Linked DNA regions of Homo sapiens: region 1 is linked to region 2. The links are contacts of gene promoters, found by promoter capture Hi-C in human tissues and cell types (Jung and others, 2019). All regions are on one chromosome and are shown on one strand. Each heading gives the region's core, a stretch centred on a gene start or on the middle of the fragment in contact. The rest is flanking DNA. Distances are from core to core; before and after follow the strand shown.

The links. The method cuts DNA at HindIII sites, captures the fragments that hold promoters and counts their contacts. A contact is called where the count stands out against the background at its distance.
Region 1: a contact is called between a fragment that was not itself captured here and the fragment with the promoter of A4GNT in region 2, in 3 of the 25 tissues and cell types used here (aorta, spleen and thymus).

What each region holds. Positions count from the first base shown.
Region 1 is chr3:138,310,297-138,315,498 of GRCh38, forward strand. NME9 (NME/NM23 family member 9) reads right to left here. Exons shown (of 11, transcript NM_001349018.2): 6 at 4,036-4,111. Among named protein-coding and RNA genes, the nearest start is that of NME9, 17 kb to the right of the region's middle. The HindIII fragment of the contact is 7,325 bases long and covers 1-5,202 here.
Region 2 is chr3:138,131,057-138,136,488 of GRCh38, forward strand. A4GNT (alpha-1,4-N-acetylglucosaminyltransferase) reads right to left here and starts at 1,334. Exons shown (of 3, transcript NM_016161.3): 1 at 1,156-1,334; 2 at 1-226. The coding sequence starts at 200. The HindIII fragment of the contact is 13,843 bases long and covers 1-5,432 here.

The DNA of each region.
Region 1 (5,202 bases), core at 422-2,921, 180 kb after region 2:
CAATACAGTAATACAATACTACAATACATAGGGGACTTCAACACCCTACTGTTAGTGATGGACAGATCATTCAGGCAGAAGACAAACGTCATAGTCAAACTGCATACTAGACCAAACAGACCTAACTGATATTTACAGAAGATTTCACCCAACTGCTACAGAAAAGACATTATTTTCATCAGCATGTGGAATATTCTCCAGAATAGAGCAAATTATAAGCCACAAAACTAGTCACAACAAATTTAAAAAAGCAGAAATCATATATATCTTTTCTGACCACAGTGAAATAAAATTAGAAATCAATAGTAAGAGGAACCTCAGAAACTACACAAACACATGAAAATTAGACAACATACTCATGAACAACAAATGCATCAGAGAATAAATTAAAAAGGGAAATTTTTAATTTCTTGAAACAAATGAAAACGGAAATACACATCCAAAATCTACAGGATACAGTAAAAGGAGTAATACAGTAAAGGGGAAGTTTGTAGCAATAAATGCTTACATCAAAAAACGTAGGAAGACTTCAAATAACCGAATGGATGCACCCAAATGCGCTAAAAAAGCAATAACCAAACCCCCAATTAGTACTAGGAAGCAAATAATAAAGATCAGAGCAGAAATAAATGAAATTGAGCCTAAAAAATACAGAAGATCAATGAAGCAAAAAGTTGATTTTTTGAAAAGATAAAATCAACGAAACTTTAGCTAGACTAAGAAAAAGAGATGACCCAAATAAAATCAGAAAGAAAATGGAGACATAACAACTGGAAACCACAGAAATATAAAGAATCATTAGACACTGTTATGAACAACTATACACCAACAAATTTGAAAACCTAAAAGAAATAGATAAATTCCTGGATATATGCAGTCTACCAAGATTGAACCATGAAGAAATAGAAAACCTCAACAAACCAATAACAAATAACAAGATCACAACTGTAATAAAAAGTCTTCTGCCAAAGAAAATCTCAGGACCTGATGGCTTCAATTCTAAATTCTACCAAACATTTAAAGAATAACTAATACCAATTATACTCAAACTCTTCAAAAAAATTTGAAGAGGAGGGGAAACTTCCAAACTCATTCTGTGAGGCCAGAATTGCCCTGATAGCAAAACCAGACAAGGACACAACAAAACGAGAAAACCAGGCCAATATCCTTGAAGAACATAGATGAAAAAGTCCTAAACAAAATACTAACAAACCAACTTCAACAACACATCAAAAAGATCATTCACTATGTGGGATTCATCCCAGGGATGTAAAAAGGGTTCATCATATGTAAATCAATAAATGTGATTCATCAAATCATTAACAGAACCAAGAACAAAAACCATATAATCATTCCAATAGATGCTGAAAAACCATTCAATAAAATTTGAATTCCCTTTATGATAAAAAACCTTCAAAACACTGGGTATAGAAGGAACATACCTCAAAACAATAAAAGCCATGTATAACAAACCCACAGCCAGCATCATAGTGAATGGGGAAAATTTCAAAGCCTTCCCTCAAAAATCTCGAATAAGACAAGGATGCCTGCTTTTACCACTTTAATTCAAAGACCCCACCAAAAAACTGTTAGAACTGATAAACGAAATCAGTGAAGTTGCAGGATACAAAATCAACATACAAAAACCCGTAGCATATGTATATACCAACAGCAAACAATCTGAAAAAGAAACCAAGAAAGCAATCACATTTACAATAGCTACAAAGAATATAAAAATGTAGACTTCAATTTAACCAAAAGATGTGAAAGCTCTCTACAAGGAAAACTATGATACACTGATGAAAGAAATTGAAGAGGACACACACACACACAAATGGAAAGATATTCCATGCTGATGGATTGGGAGAATTAATATTGTTAAAATGTTAATAGTGCCCAAGGCAATTTACAGATTCAATGCAATCCCTATCAAAATACCAAAGACATTCTTCTCAGAAATAGAAAATACAATCCTAAAATTTATATGGAACCACAAAAGACCCCAAATAACCAAAGCCATCCTGAGCAAAAATAACAAACCTGGAGGCATCACACTACCTGACTTCAGATTATACTACAAAGCTATAGTGACCAAAACAGCAAAATACTAGCATAAAAACAGACACAGAATAGCGAACCCAGATGTAAATCCACACATTTATAGCCAGCTCATTTTCAACAAAGGTGCCAAGAACATACAATGGTGAAAAGGACATTCTCTTCAATAAATGGTGCTGGTTAAACTGAATAACCATATGCAGAAGAATGAAATTACACCCCTATTTCTCACCATATACAAATACAAAATCAAAATAGATTAAAGGCATAATTCTAAGACCTGATACTATGAAACTATCAAAAGACAACATTGGGGAAATGCTCCAGGATATTGGTCTGAACAAAGATTTTTTGTGTAAGACCTCAAAAGCATAGGCAACAAAAGCAAAAATAGATAAATGAGATCACATCAAGCAAAGAAGCTTCTGCAAAGCAAAGGACACAATCAACAAAGTGAAGAGACAACCCACAGAGTGGGAGAAAATATTTGCAAACTATCCCTCCGACAAGGGATTAATAACCAGAATATATAAGGAGCTCAAACAACTTAAAAGCAAAAAGAAAAATAATCTGATTTTTAAATGGGCAAAAGAGCTGAGTAGACATTTCTCCAAAAAAAGACATAAAAATGGCCAGTGGGTATATGAAAAAGGTGCTCAATATCACTAATCATCAGGGAAATGCAAATCATAAAATCACAATAAGATGTCATCTCACCCCAGTTAGAATGGGGACTATTAAGAAAAAAAAGGGAGGCCAGGTGTGGTGGCTCACGCCTGTAATCCCAGCACTTTGGGAGGCCAAGGCGGGTGGATCACCTGATGTCAGGAGTTCAAAACCAGCCTGGCCAACATGGCGAAATCCAGTCTCTACTAAAAATGTAAAAATTAGCCAGGTGTGGTGGCGGGTGCTTGTAATCCCAGCTACTCAGGGAGGCTGAGGCACGAGAATTGCTTGAACCTGGGAGGCAGAGGTTGCAGTGAGCCAAGATCACACCACTGCACTCCAACCTGGGCGACAGAGGGAGACTCTGTCTCAAAACAAAACAAAGCAAAACAAAAAAAAGAATAATGAGGTGAGGATGTAGAGAAAGGGGAATGTTCATATACTGCTGGTATGAATGTAAATTAGCACAGCCACTATAGAAAACAGTATGGAGGTCCCTGAAAAAACAAAACTAGAGCTACCATATGATCCAACAATCCCACTACTATGTATATATCCAAAAGAGAGGAAATCAAGAGATATCTGCACTCCCGTGTTTATTGCAGCAGTATTCACGGTAGCCAAAATATGGAATCAACCTAAGTGCCCATCAATGGATGAATAAAGAAAATGTGGTGTATATACACAAGGGAATATTATTCATTAATTTAAAAGATTAAAATCCTGTCATTTGTGGCAACATGGATAGAACTGGAGATCATTATGTTAAGTGAAATAAGCCCCCAAGCAAAGAACAACAAATAGCACATGTTCTTACTCATATGTGGGAACTTAAAAAATGGATCTCATGAAGATAGAGAGTAGATTGGTGATTACCAGAGGCCAGGAAGTGGAGAGAGAGGAATGAAGAGAGGTTGATTAATAGGTACAATCTACAGATAGACAGAAGAAATCAGACCTGGTATTCAAGAAATCAGTAGGGTGAATATAGTTAACATTAATCTTTTGTACATTTCAAAATAGCTAGAAGAAAATAATTTGGATATCCATAGCATAAAGAAAAGATAAATATTTAAGGTGATGGATATCCCAATTACCCTGATTTAATTATATGAGTGTATCAAATTATCTTATGTACTCTGAAAATATGCACATCTATTATATATCAATTTTTAAAAGAAAATTATGAACCATTAAAAAATCTTCTCATAGTTCAGATTGCTCAGTAAACTGAATACTCATCTATTTTAAACATATATAAAATCTGAGTCTGCTTTGCTTTTTTCCCTTGCTCATTGGTTCTGCACTCACCCATGTCCTCATCTTCACCATTATTCTTTCCATGGGAAACACATTCATCTTCATCAGAAAGAGCCTCATCTTTAATCTAGTACAAATTGGTCATTAAAAGAAAGTAGTTAGCTAATTAACATTACCACTAAGACCTTCAAAAACCTGTAGAAACTAAAAAAAGCAAAGCTCCAAAACACAGAGAAAAAAATGTCAAAATTATCAGTCTTGGAAACTTTACAGGACCCTTTTTGGTAGTTGGGTGATGGTGTGGGACTGACAGAATTAGAATACAAGAAAATCCACGCTTAAGTTTTAGAGTCTGCCTCTTTTCATAAGCATTAAGTAGAGATAGTTGATAAGAAGACAAAGAATTGAAATGTAAGTAAATATTAAGAGATTGACTATGCAGTACAGAGAAGCCGCCAAGAGATAATATTCCCTTGGAGGAGGCACATGAAAATGTTAGCATTTGCAGTTTTCTTTTGTGAGGGAAAATGGCCAGTTTTCTTGGGAAAAATATGATTTGATTCTAATCCATTCTATAAAAATGGAGCTTTGCTATTTGGAATTTAATAAGAAAACTTGAACAATGAACATGGAATGGTGTTGAGTCACATTTGCCAGATGCTCAAAGCACCAGGAAATACCTCTCTACCTACGGTATGTTGATTTTCAAAGGCAGCCAATTATTTGAAGAACTGGCAGTCAATGTTATCATGGAAATAATGTATCAAAATCACAAGCTTTGCTGATTCTATTTCTCATGATAATGACAGACCTTAATTTCTAGGTTAAAGAAATGAGCCCTCTGAGTTCACAAGTAAAACCTTCAGGAATATGAGCCAGTGGGTCACTAGGAGAGATTTCACCTCAAGGCTGAGAGGAGCCCAGGATAGCTGACTTCTCCTACCCACCACTCCATTCTGTAACTTGATTTTCATTTCTGAATTCATTGTTAAGAGTTGAGGTGGGAGACGAAAGGGAAATGGATAAAATAAAGCACTCTGGATGAAAGAGATGGCTTTTATAAGAAGGTTTCAAAATGCACACATATCACCAGGGCACAGTGCATGAGGAACAGACCCAGGTGAAACTTTTATGAAGCTGTCCACCGACAGCTCCAGGAAAGTCAGGTGAAGGAGATGGGGACTGCTGATCTCGCCCTACTAGCGCACTTGTGAGTTA
Region 2 (5,432 bases), core at 84-2,583:
ACCAAATGGGGTGGCTCCATTCTCTCTGAGGTCTCTAGAAACACAATGCCACGTCTGTGGCTCAGGAGGGCTTCCAGCCCCTGGTGGGACTTGAAAGAAGGCAAACAGAAGAGGCAGCTGGACTTCAGGGTGAACTGGTAGAGGAAGCCACAGACAAGCAGCAAGGTGACTGACAGGGAGAGCTGGAGCTCCTTCCGCATGTCCTCTTCTCTGTGCCAGCCTGCTCCTTTAAATCAACACAATTAATTAAAAATCACAGCTGCAAAACCTGACAAAGATAGCACACAAGAAAATGATACATGAATATCATTTAAAAACTTAAATTTTAAATATCCTAAATAAAATATGATGAAATCAAGTCCAGCAATATTAAAAAAAAAATGCAGCCAGGCATGGTGGCATATGCCTGTAGTCCCAACTACTAGGGAGGCTGAGGCAGGAGGATCCCCTGAGTCCAAGAGTTCAAGACTAGCTTGGGCAGCATAGTGAAAATCATCACAAAAATTTAAAAAAAAAGAAAAAGAAAAAGACAAGAAATATGTGAGAAAGAAAAATGCATCATAACCAATCAGGATTTATCTTAGATTTTAAAATGATTTGACATTAAAAATAATTAGTTAATAGGGAAAACTATTGATAAAATGCATTATCTTAACAGTCTAAAGAAGAAAAGCCATATGATCATTTTGGCTCAAGAGATGCCAAGAATGTGACTAACTTTAAGATCCATTCACAATTTTTTTAAAGTACAAGGAAACTTTCTTAAGCTGATTTTAAACAATGTCTACCAGAACATATAGCAATTATCATACTTAATATGAAACATTTGAAACATCCCATTAAGATCAGGAATATGATATGAATGTCCATTGTCATTGTCACTGACATCATTGGTTACAATCTGATAATTGTAACCAATGCAATAAAACAAGAGAAATGAATTTCTACTACGAATATTAAAAGAGGCAAAAGTATCTCTAGGTTCAGAAAACATAACTGAAAAACTAATAGAACTAAGAAAAAAAATTAACAAAGGAAGCAAACTGAAGGCTAAAGAGTTAAATAAATTGCCAAGATCACACGATTAGCAAGTAGCAGAGCTGTGACTGTAACTTGCATCCACCTGCCACCAAAGTCCAGGCTCTGAACCGTTACCTGCAGTGCTTTCCTCACCAAAAATGTTAGCTCTAACCAAGGAGAACACAGATCTCACGTCTTGGCAGGTCTATCTTTCAAATTACATATAACCCTTTTAGAAAATACAAAACAGTGAATCAGAGCCTAACTTCTAGCTGCAAATGCAGTTAACCAGTATTTGAGGTCTTAGAAATGACAAGTTCTTCCTGCTACACTTTCTGATAAATCACCACCCAATCTTCCAACTCAACAACACAGGGGTAAGTAAATCATTGGCAGATTGAGACTAAACACAAAAAGTTCCCAGGAAGCTCCTCCCTTTACTAAGTTCTCCCAAACACAGCCACTTGGGAACAAGAGGGGTTTACCAGATTTTTAAGGTGACCCACACACTAATCCTGCCTGTTTGTGGATCTATTATGGGGGTTATAAAGGGATTATTTCACCTGGAGAAAACTGTATCCTGGCATAACCTTGGAGCCAACATATCCTGCACTTGATCAGTTTAGCTTGAATCAAAATTATGGACAGAGACCCTGTAAGGTGGTACAAACTCCCCTTTGCAAGCACAAAGTTTGATTAAAAGGAAAGAGAGCCCATCACCACAAATAAGCAATGAACAAAGCCCTGCAGTCCAAAGGCCCAGTGATCTAGAATGAGAAGTGATTCCCCAGTGTCAGTCACAGTGGCTGCAGGAAGGCTCCTTTTTCCCCAAGGTCCCCCTTATGGGGTATAAGCCTCGTCCCAGTCTCAGGAAGCCAGCTTTGTTGTCCTCCACTGATGTGGCAGTCCCCACATTTCCCAAGGTGTTAGCACTCACCTGTGGCCTATTCTCCACCGCCCCTGAAATGAGCTCTTAGCAATCTTCTTTGGAGCCATCCTCTGCTGAGAGTCACCTGTCTTGGCCATGAGCAGGTATTCACAGTTCCCCCTGGATGCTCTAGTGTGAGCAGGTAGGCCTGCTCCTGAGCAGACTTTAGATTCTAACATAGCAGGTCCTACATGAAGGGAGTTAAAGCTGCCCCACTCATTGATGGCTTCTGGTTTTCTATGTGTCCAAGGACCCCAGAAACAGCTTGTAGGTCTCCACAAACCTCTTCCTTTTGGAGCTGAATTTCTTCTCTGGACCTCATTAATTCTGGGCTCAGAGTGCCTTGGCATCTTTCCAAAGTTCTCTGTAATTGGACAGATTGGTTGTTCTTTCCTATGAAGGGGAGTGGAGATTAGTGCTCCTGCTCCTTGCCCAGGGGTAACTAGAGGACCCCATCTGTGGGAGTGATAACACATTCCTGGGCCTCAGGTGGGTCACATATCTTAGTGCCTCCCAACTGCTAGCCCAGTGGCTAAAACTATTGAACAAGTGGTCAAGGCAGAGATCAGTGATGTAGTTAATGGCCTTTGTCAGGTGAGGATGAATGTGAGCATCAGCAATGCAGTGAAATCCCAAGCACAAAAGTAGGACCTATCTGACCAAGAACCAAGTAGAAAGCATGATGGAAGTAGCACTGAGCTTGGAGTTATGCCTCCAGCCACCACAGGCTGAGGGCACTAGACAAGCCCCTAAACTGCCCAGAGCCTCAACTCCCTTGAAAAGTGCAGAAAATGACCGACCTCAGGCTCACTGTGAGAATGAAAGTTCTCTTTAAACCAAAGAAGTTATTGTCACTTTCTACCAAGGAAAATAGAAGAGAAAAATAGAATTATATCAATATGGATGGTATTTGTACTCCCTGATAACAAACATTAAGTTGTTTTGTTTTGTTCAGATGAGTGAAATCTATTCCCTATTCTAACCTTGTTTTTTTTTTTTTTGTTTTTTTTTGAGACAGAGTCTCCCTCTGTTGCACAGGCTGGAGTGCTGTGGTGTGATCTTGGCTCACTGCAACCTCTGCCTCCCTGGTTCAAGTGATTCTCCTTCCTTGGCCTCCCAAGTAGCTGGGACTACAGGCATGTGCCACCATTCCTAGATAATCTTTGTATTTTTAGTAGAGACAGGGTTTCACCATATTGGCCAGGCTGGTCTCGAACTCCTGACCTCAAGTGATCCGCCCACTTTGGCCTCCCAAAGTGCTGGGATTACAGGCATGAGCCACCGCGCCTGGTCCCCAGTGAACTTTTAAGAGGGAAATCTTCAACCCTGTATAAGAGTTGATGAGATGCGTTCAGAAGCCAGGTCACTGGTACTTGGAGCCTCTGTAGGTTCATAGCCCAAAGTCCTTCCTGTGTCTTTCTGAGAAGGCCTCCTGTCATCTGAGCCACTCTACCTGGAACTTCTCAGGGCCCCCAACATCCATCCTTCAGCATTCCCTTTGGTTTGAGAAACAGAACTACTTTCCCTTCCTTCTGCACCCCTTTCTGCCTTTCCTGGCCTATACCACACTAACTTCTGTCTGTTCAGGCAGGTGTCACAGCAGCAGCTCTTAACCTGGACTTTACAGATCCCTAGAAGCTCCAAGGATGGGCTTCAGGAGACCCTGAACCCTGGCACCATATTTTACATCAGTACCTTAACCCAGGATGTCACTTGTCCATACCTTTTCCTACATATCACCTTCCCTAAGAAATGTCCCTGCTCCCTGACCCTCCTTGACACTAACTCTGCTCAAAATTCTTCTGGATTTCTTCACTACACAATCTCAGGCCTTCTCCAACTAGCCAAGCAACCCCTAGGAACCCCAATGTAGATATCTGAGTAGAGATGTACAAAGAACTACTTGTCTTTGAGCAATGGATGTGTCTGAATACAGCGATGGCAGTCACATATGCATTCAGGTGTTGTCTACTTTCCTAGGAATTTCTGAGTCGTGTGAAGAGTTCTTGCTTCCTCCATTATAATGTAAGCCAGACTTGGTCAATCCAACAGACTATGGAGCCTGGGCAATTGTTGCTGACTGATGAGAACTTAGGAAATGTGAATTGATGTGGCCCCAAATAAATTAACAGGATAAGACAAAACCTCTGAATTCAGCGTTTTTCTATTATACTTGGATGTTTGGAACTAGTGTTAAAAAAAAAAAAAAAAAGGGCAGACCAGGGAGAAAAACCATAGAACTGGAGGAGAAGAGGAGACATTTCCCCAACTCTTCAGCCCTATGGATGACCTCTGATAACCTCAATTGAAAATAGTTCAGTGTTTGGCACTAAACTTCCTCCTTCTACAGGACCCACTGTATTAAGAAGGGGAAGTTAAAATAATTTTTTTAACAATAAATGTTTGTCGAATTGAATTTCACATGAAAAGCACAATGCTTAATTCTATAGCTTCTTTGAACTCAGATTTATTGCAAGAAGGAAATTTTCAACCCAGCAATATTTGTCCTCTTTACTTTGGAGCCTTTGGAACCACAGTTCCTGTTTTAACATATTTGTTAAGCAAGCGGGGCTGATAAACTTGTTAAAGCATTCAGTTATTAACAGGGAAAAACCAATACACAAAGTGATATCTTATCAACAATGCCAATTCCCTTCACCACTGTTCTGAAGTTGGAACAAAGACTGGAATGCTGGGTTTACATGAATGGAGAGGAGATGGCTGGACAGAGGCATTTCACTGCAGACTAAGAACAATCCATAGCATAACACTAGGAAACCCATAGAGGAATAATAAAATAATTGACATGCATTAAGGACTGACATTATCAACATTAAATCCTGAAAAAAGTAATTGTTAAAAAGTATTTTTCACTAAAAATCAATGAGTTAGCACCGGAGTAAAATCTCTTTGTCCCTTAGCAATATTTTAAACTGTTCTGCATTTCCAGGGAAATGAATCTAGCCTTGTGTATCTGGTGATAATGCTCTTTGTTCTCCACTCAGCCACAGCAGTCAAACATGCCCCTGTTTGCAACACTTTACATAGCTATCAATAATTGATTTCCGGGTTTGTTCTGGAAATTATTGTGTTCACACATGTAGTTTCCCCTCTTTGTTAAATTTACTTGCAGATAAAAGAGTAGGTGGGGGATAAGGTCAGGGAGATAAGGGGAAAAAAGTTAATAAATGTTCCCTATAAACCAGTTGTGCCCCAGACACCACTTTCAAAGACTGAAGAACAGGGTCTGCAAGAAGCCTATAGAAAAGAGTGGCACCTTTCTGAGAGCGAGGGGCTATTTGAAGCGACCTTGCTAAGTTCTGTAAGCCGGAGTTTAGTTCCTTTTTCCTGTAAGGAACAGAAATCAGCTTAGGGTCATCTATGCTAAGTGTCCACATGGCACAGGACTTTATAAAGCCTGAGTGTCTGAGAATGAGCACTTTCCAATATGGCTGAAAGAAACTGTTATGGATTGAATGTTTGT